2 separate regions of the Homo sapiens genome follow, and region 2 is linked to region 1. Evidence: promoter capture Hi-C in 16 types of primary human blood cells and fetal thymus (Javierre and others, 2016). All regions are on one chromosome and are shown on one strand. The core of a region is centred on a gene start or on the middle of the fragment in contact, and the rest is flanking DNA. Distances in the headings are between cores, read along the strand shown.

Region 1 (4,197 bases), core at 1,166-3,665:
CGCCTGTAATGCCAGCACTTTGGGAGACTGAGGCAGGAGGATCACGAGGTCAAGAGATTGAGACCATCCTGGCCAACATGGTGAAACCCTGTCTCTACCAGAAATACAAAAATTGGCTGGGCGCGATGGCTCATGCCTGTAATCCCAGCACTTTGGGAGGCCAAGGCAGCAGATCATGAGGTCAAGAGATCGAGATCATCCTGGCCAACACGGTGAAACCCCGTCTCTACTAAAAATACAAAAAATTAACCAGGCGTGGTGGCTCGTGCTTGTAGTCCCAGCTACTCGGGAGGCTGAGGCAGGAGAATCGCTTTAACCTGGGAGGCAGCCAAGATCGCACCACTGCACAGACCGAGACTCCGTCTCCAAATCAATCAATCAATAAACAAACAATTATGGTGGCTCACACCTGTAATCCCAGCACTTTGGGAGGCCAAGGCAGGAGGATTGCTTGAGCCCAGGAGTTAGAGACCAGAGTGGGCAACATGGTAAAACCCCATTTCTACTAAAAATGTAAAAATTAGCCAGGCATGGTGGTTCCTGCTTGTGGTCCCAGCTACTCCGGGGGCTGAGGCAGGAGGACTGCTTGAGCACTGGAGGCTGGGGCTGCAGTGAGCCGAGATCCCGCCACTGCACTCAGCCTGGGAGATCAACCCAGACCGGTCCCCCCCACCAAAAAAAAGAAAAAAAGAAAGAAAAGAAAAGAAGGGCCGGGCGCGGTGGCTCACGCCTGTAATTCAACACTTTGGGAGGCTGAGGCGGACGGATCACAAGGTCAGGAGATCGAGACCATCCTAGCTAAGACGGTGAAACCCTGTCTCTACTAAAAAATACAAAAAAATTAGCCAGGCGTAGTGGCGGACGCCTGTAGTCCTAGCTACTGAGGAGACTGAGGCAGGAGAATGGTGTGAACCCAGGAGGCGGAGCTTGCAGTGAGCCGAGATTGCGCCACTGCACTCCGGCCTGGGCGACAGAGCAAGACTCCGTCTCAAAAAAAAAAAAAAAGAGAAACTTACTTAGTAGGGTTGCTGTGAGGATTATACAAGACAGAAGCATCTTCACCAAGCCATAGGCCATAGAAAGGTCTTTTTGTTTGTTTGTTTTTTGAGATAGAGTCTCACTCTGTTGCCCAGGCTGGAGTGCAATGGCCTGATCTCGGCTCACTGCAACCTCCGCCTCCCGGGTTCAAGTGATTCTCCTGGCTCAGCCTTCTGAGTAGCTGGGACTAGAGGCGCGTGCCACGACGCCCGGCTAATTTCTGTATTTTTAGTAGAGACGGGGTTTCACCATGTTGCCCAGGCTGGTCTCGAACTCCTGGTCTCAAGTGATCTGTCCGCCTCGGCTTCCCAAAGTGTGGGATTACAGGCGTAAGCCACCACACCTGGCCATAGAAAGGTCTTAATACGGCCGGGCGCGGTGGCTCACGCCTGTAATCCCAGCTCTTTGGGAGGCCCAGGCGGGTGGATCATGAGGTCAGATATTGAGACCATCCTGGCCAACATGGTGAAATCCTGTCTTTACTAAAATACAAAAAAAAAAAAAAATTGCCGGGCGTGGTGTCGCGCGCCTCTAGTGCCAGCTCTTCGGGAGGCTGAGGCCGGAGAATCACTTGAACCCAGGAGGCTGAAGCTGCAGTGAGCCGAGATCGCGCCACTGCACTCCAGCCTGGCCAAAGAGCAAGACTCTGTCTAAAAAAATAAATAAATAAATAAAAAATAAAGGTCTTAATACTTGTTAATTACTATTACTGACCCCAGGAACTCTCTGAAGCACTTTTCATGCAGGTATCACCTTCTTTAGCACTCACATTATGTCTTATCGGAAACAGGTTTAGAGCTGTCAAGAAATTCCTCCAGAGTCGTTTACACTTCCAGCAGGGGAGTCAAGACTTCAACCCAGAAACTCACAAGCAGGAAAAACTTGGCAAACAGGCACGGGTCAGACAATGCTTAGGGCTTGCTCAAGGACTCGTGACCAGTTACTGATCTATGCAGATCTTCTGATTGCAAACTGATAGCTGGATTGTAACTTGAAGGGTCCGATAAGATGTAAACTTCATAAAACAGGATTTGGGGAGGTAAATGGAGTAGAGTCCTCCAGAGGAGTCGAGAAAGCTAGCTTGGCCCTCAATTGTGGTTGAGGTGATTCTTTCATTTAGGGCCTATTTTCCTCATCTATGAGTGCGGGAAGGAGAGTTACTGGGGTCTCTAGCGACCTTTCCAACACTGATTTTCAAGGGCGAAAGAATTCTGCTTAGGTAAGGCCCAAATCCCTTGGCTAAGGTTAATCCTCGGTGGGACCGGCAATAGGGACGCGTCCCCTTTAAGGCGCCAGCTCTCCGGCGGCGGCGGCCGGAAGTGTTGAAGCCCGGCCTGGCGGCGGCGGTGGCGGTAGCTGCCGTGGCGGCCTCTGCGCATGCTCCGTCGCCTGCCCGCCCTGGCCGCTCGCCGCCCGCCCGCCCGACGGAGACGGTGAGGAGGGGGAGGGGTGGGCGCGCGGGCGCGGGGTGGGGTGGGGGCGGGGGGGCGGGCGCGGGGGCCGCGCGGCGGCCGGCGAGGGCGGGCGGGCGCGCAGGGGGCGGGGGGCTGCTGCCTCCGCGGGCGCCTCCCCACGCCCTGTGCGTGCCGCCGCCGCCGCCGGGGAGCGAGCGGACGTCGCGGCGCCGCGGGGGGGTGGGGGGACGCTGCCGCTGGGTCCGCCCGAGCCGCCGGGCCGCCCCCAGCGCAGCCGGCCGCGCCGCCGGGGCTCGGGCCCCAGACCAGGGCGGCGGGAACCGGCGAGTCCACCACTGGGGGGGCCCCGGCGCCCCCGGACCGAGGGGCCCGGAAGTACTCGGCTCAGGGGCCAGGAGGGGCCGGAGTGACTCCGGACTGAGAGGGCCAGGCGCCCAGGACCCCATCGAGGGGTCCGGGGAGCCTGGGGTATCCCCAAAGGCGGGGTCCGGGGAGCACCGGGCCCTTGGATGAGGAGCTGGTTGGAGGCCTGGGTCCTGCCCAGTGGGAGGGGGACGATAGGTGCTGGAAGCCCGGATGCCCGCCTGGGAGGAGACCCTCTCGGAGCCTTGGCGGGAGAGCAAGAGTACAGAGTGGGTTCTTCTGAGGAGAGCAGAGTCCAGCTTATCCCGAGGGGCGCGGTAGAGGCCTCGGCCACTCAGAACAAGGGAAAAAAGGGCAGGTTTTTTCCAAAGGCAGGGAAGGAAGAGGAGCTCTAAGGGGAAGTGAGCAGGCCCAGGTCTCCCCACAGATGAGCGCGTGGTAGGAAGACTCCTAGAGCCTCCTGAAGTACGAAAGAGCAGCGTCCAAACCTGAGGGGATGGAAGGTGTCTAGGTGCCTCTTGATGTCTAGGTGGAGAACAAAGTAACCCGCTCGGTCAGGGGATGGAGAAACCTATCTTTTTGAGAGAAGCAGAGATCGTTGAGGAAAGATGCTTAAGGTGTTCCCGCTTTCTGAAATGACAGGAATTGGCCAGGTGTTATCTAATTGAGGGGCAGGAGAGATGAAGGCAAAATCTCAACCCGAGGGTCTTTGGAGGATGATCCACAAGACAAGAGGGTGAAGTCTTGACCTAGACAGCAGAGCAGGCGCAGCCCTGGATTCTCTCAAGATGAGAGAAATCTCAAAACCACTTCCTAGTAGACACAGATGGGGCCTTGATTGGTGTCTGTTTAGGCCAATCAAGACGGGTTTTAGGAAAAGAGACTGTCAGACATAATTCTAGTCTTGAGGGATTATCTTCTTCCTCCTTGCCTCTTCTAATAGTTACCAAAGTGCATTTGGGGACCCTTTTTATTTATTTATTTATTTATTTGTTTTTTGAGACGGAGTCTCACTCTATCGCCCAGGCTGGAGTGGTGGCTCACTGCAACTTCCGCCTCCTGGGTTCAAACGATTCTCCTGCCTCAGCCTCCCGAGTAGCTGGGACTACAGGCGCGTGCCACCACACCAGCCAATTTTGTTGTTGTTGTTGTTGTTGTTTGAGACGGAGTTTCACTCCTGTTGCCCAGACTGGAGTGCAATGGCGCGATCTCAGCTCACTGCAACCTCCGCCTCTTGGGTTCAAGCGATTCTCCTGCCTCACCCTCCCGAGTAGCTGGGGCTACAGGCGCCCGCCACCACACCCAGCTAATTTTTGTATTTTTAATAGAGACGGGGTTTCACCATGTTGGCCAGGCTGGTCTCGAACTCCCAACCTCAGGT
Region 2 (4,197 bases), core at 803-3,302, 370 kb after region 1:
TTCTATATCCCTATCCACTCCTTCCCCCTACTTCCGAGATTATTTTGAAGCAAATCCCAGGCCTCACGTCATTTCATTCATAAATAAACTTGATTCTTTAAGAGAAAGAGAGAGAGAGATAATCCTGATATCTTTTCCTTCTATTTATATTTTCATATAATAGCACTATAGCACAGTCAACGAGAAGAAAATTCAAGGAAATTAATATTTCAATTATTTCAAAATAAAACATGAGGGTACATTTTACACCCAATTAAAGAATCTTAATTATTGGCATTAACACATTTATTTATGCTTTCATCATCTCTCCTTCTTTAAAATCAAACCACAAAAGTAGAATTTTTTAAAAAGAGCAAGGAGGAGTAAAAAAGTGATTTTTGAATGTCTAATAACTGTGGTATAGATTTCAGCTGCAGCCAGTATACTTACTTGTAGGATGGCATATTTAAATCCATTGCATCAAAATAAGAGAATACCTTAAAATCTAATGCTCCCTTACATAAAAGTATATGTTTGCTGAATTGAAATCAATTACCTCAAAGGGAAAAATACTCTCTTTTTGGTAGTATTTGATGTAGTAATTTATGTCCTTATTCAACAAATATTTATTGGATATCATATTTATGCCAGGCACTATGCCAGAAGCAAAAACACAAAGATGAATAAGCCATGGTCTTTGTTCTTTACTCCTAGAGAATTCAGTCTTATAGGGGAGACCAGCATAGAAATAGATTGTTTTAATTCAGTATGGTACAAAGAGTACATAGAGTACCATATAGGAAAAAGATGGGGTTCCCAACTGAGTTTAAAAATACACCAAATAACCTGTTAAATAGATTACCAGGCATTAATTGAGTTTGGAGTGCATTTGACAAAACTGTCATTCCAGGAGAGTGGAAAAAGAGCTCTGGGCTTCGACTTTGTTACTGCCCAATGTCCTAACAGCTGTGTGACCTTAAGTAACTTCTTTTTTGAGGTTCAGTTTCCTATATCTATAAAATGGGGAAAACATTATAAGGATGTAGTAAAAATACTGCAGTGCTGTAAAAACATTTTGAAAACTGTAAGGCCCTTTCTATAGAGCTATAAATAAAATTAATATAGGTCCCAACTGGTTGCTTTGAGAAATGACAAAGAACTAAAATAATGATTACTTGATTGAAAATTTCTTAGTAACTATATGGAAACCCTGAGAATTGTGAAACTTTTTTATTCTTGATTTTGTTTTTAATTTTACAGTTTTAGAATAATAAGATGAATATATAATAATATGACTATTACGATTTTCCCCCCAGATTGACATCTACAGACACCATTCCCAAAAGCAAATTTCTTGCGCTAGGATCCAAATTTCGATACAGTGGCCGGACTCAAGCTCAGACCAGGCAAGCTAGTGCTCTAATTGACAGGCCTGCCCCACACTTCGAGCGTACAGCAAGTAAACGGGCGTCCCGGAGCCTCGATGGAGGTTTGTATTGAATATTAATGATTTCTTGTGATCATAATTCATTTGGAAAGATAAAGGAAGTGCAATTATCTATAAGAGAACCGAATTAAAGAAGCTCAGGGTTGGGCCTGGTGCAGTGGCTTACACCTGTAATCCTAGCACTTTGGGAGGCCAGGGCAGGTGGATTGCCTGAGCTCAGGAGTTTGAGACCAGCCTGGGCAACACAGTGAAACCCCATCTCTACTAAAAATACAAAAAATTAGCTGGGCGTGGCGGCATATGCCTGTAATCCCAGCTACTTGGGAGGCTGAGACAGGAGAATTGCTTGAACCCAGGAGGTAGAGGTTGTAGTGAGCCGAGATCATGCCGTTGCACTCCAGCCTGGCTGACAGAGTGGGACTCTGTCTCAAAAAAAAAAGAAGCTCAGTGGTAAAATGAAAGGGATCTTACTAATTGTCTAATCTTAATAGAATCATCTTAAGAAAAGGAAAATTGAGATTCCGAGAGTAGTGACTAGATCATGGTTCCACTGCTAGGTAGTGGTGGATCAAACAGTACCAGAATTAGAATTATAAATCTAAATCTATCAGAATCTCTACCAGAGAGTAAAAATCTAATGTAGTATGCTGAACTGAAGGCCTCTTAGCATTTAAAAATAGCTAATATTTTTCTGCAGTCCTGGTAACACAGGAGGCTGAGGCAGGAGGATAGCTTGAGCCCAGGAGGTGGAGGCTGCAGTGTGCACCTCTGTACTCCAGCCTAGGCCACAAAGTGAGACTCTGTCTCTAAAAAATAAATAAATAAATAATAGCTATTTTCTATAGTAGAAAAGAGGAAAAGGGTCTGCCTTACTACAACAATCTTTTTTTTTTTCTTAATTTTTTTATTTTTTGAGATGGAGTCCCACTCTGTGGCCCAGGCTGGAGTGCAGTGACTCAACCTCGGCCCACTGCAACCTCTGCCTACCAAGGTTCAAGTGATTCTCCTGCCTTAGTCTCCCGAGTAGCTGTGATTACAGGCGTGTGCCACCATTCCTGGCTAATTTTTGTATTTTTAGTAGAGACAGGGTTTCACTATGTTCGCCAGGCTGGTCTCAAACTCCTGACCTCAGGTTATCTACCCACCTCGGCCTCCCAAAGTGCTGAGATTATGGGTGTGATCCACCATGCCCAGCCATACAAGAATAATTTAAAAAGAAGTTTGCCACGTGGCAATTATGGATAGGAAACTCCAATATCCCATTGTTGGAGTCTCCAAATGTTTAAATAAAATAGGGAGGAAATACACAAATTTCGTGATTGTATATACTGACAGAAGACCTGTCTGAATTGATATATTGTGGGAGGATCTTCTAAGTTAGCATTTGAGCCCATTACTGAAACGAGGTAATAAGCTACATTCAGTTCCTTATGTCACTAAAAAAAGAGTGGCTAATAAATAAAAATTCAGGCTGGGTGCGGTGGCTCACACCTATAATCGCAGCACTTTGGGAGGCCAAGGTGGATGGATCACATGAGGCCAGAAGTTCGAGATCAGCCTGGCTGACATGGTGAAACCCTGTCTCTAGTAAAAATACAAAAATCAGCTGGGCATGGTGGCGCACGTCTGTAATCCCAGCTACACAGGAGGCTGAGGCATGAGAATCGCTTAAACCCGGGAGGCGGAGGCTGCAGTGAGCCAAGATTGCGCCATTGGACTCCAGCCTGGGAGACAGAGTGAGAGTGTCTCATAAATAAATAAATTAAATAAATAAATAAATAAATAAATAAATAAATAAATAAATGTTCAGAAGGGCCGGGCATGGTGGCTCATGCCTGTAATCCCAGCACTTTGGGAGCCCGAGGCAGGAGGATCACTTGAGGTCAGGAGTTCAAGACCAGCCTAGCGAACAGGGCGCAACCCTGCCTCTACTAAAGGTACAAAAATTAGCTGGGCTTGGTGGCGCACGCCTGTAATCCCAGCTACTCAGGAGGCTGAGGCACGAGAATTGCTTAAACCTGGGAGGCAGAGGTTGCAGTGAGCTGAGATGGCACCTCTGTACTCCAGCCTGGGCAACAGAGTGAGACTCTGTCTCAAAATAAAATAAAGTAAAAGATATAAGTTCAGAAGGCAATAATCCAAATAGGGTATTATTGATTACCTTTATTATTTGTTACCAGTGTACAAGCCTATGCTATCTACTGTAAAAGCAAGATACATGTTGTTATGTGCATATATAGTGTGCAGAGTGGGACGCCGTCTCAAAAAAAAAAAAGAAGCTCAGTGGTAAAATGAAAGGGATCTTACTAATTGTCTAATCTTAATAGAACCATCTATTAATAGAACAGGTTAAGGATTTGGGTTCTGGAATCAGACAGACCTGATTCCAATATCAACCCTAGCATTTATGAGCTATGTTCCTAGGCAAATTACTTCATTTCTCTGTGCCTCAGTTTTATCATTTGTAAAATGGAGATGATGATAGTATCATACTACCTCAAAGAGTTTTCATGAGGAATAAATGAGGTGGCATATGTATGGTATTTAGCACAATGGCTGCCACTTAATGAGTTCCCCCCACAAAATGTTAGCTATCATTAAGATGCTGTTTTTCTGGCTGTAACATTTGTATCATCTGGAACCATGCTACTATATTCTGGTTTGTAGATGTATGCAGACCCTCTCATGAGATATGTAGACCATTGTACAGCAGCCATAGTCACCATTTGGAAGTTCCCTACTAATTGAGCAAGTATTTCTTTCCATGATGT

Evidence for each region. The method cuts DNA at HindIII sites, captures the fragments that hold promoters and counts their contacts. A CHiCAGO score of 5 or more calls a contact.
Region 2: a contact is called between a fragment that was not itself captured here and the fragment with the promoter of GMEB1 in region 1, in 2 of 17 cell types (M1 macrophages and M2 macrophages). The highest score is 5.5, in M1 macrophages.

What each region holds. Positions count from the first base shown.
Region 1 is chr1:28,666,369-28,670,565 of GRCh38, forward strand. GMEB1 (glucocorticoid modulatory element binding protein 1) reads left to right here and starts at 2,416. Exons shown (of 10, transcript NM_001319674.2): 1 at 2,416-2,471. RefSeq lists silencers at 2,388-2,527, 2,558-2,667, 2,678-2,967 and enhancers at 3,498-3,547, 3,598-3,657. The HindIII fragment of the contact is 26,935 bases long and covers 1-4,197 here.
Region 2 is chr1:29,037,959-29,042,155 of GRCh38, forward strand. It overlaps EPB41 (erythrocyte membrane protein band 4.1), which reads left to right. Exons shown (of 21, transcript NM_001376013.1): 11 at 1,296-1,468. Among named protein-coding and RNA genes, the nearest start is that of TMEM200B, 84 kb to the right of the region's middle. The HindIII fragment of the contact is 8,836 bases long and covers 1-4,197 here.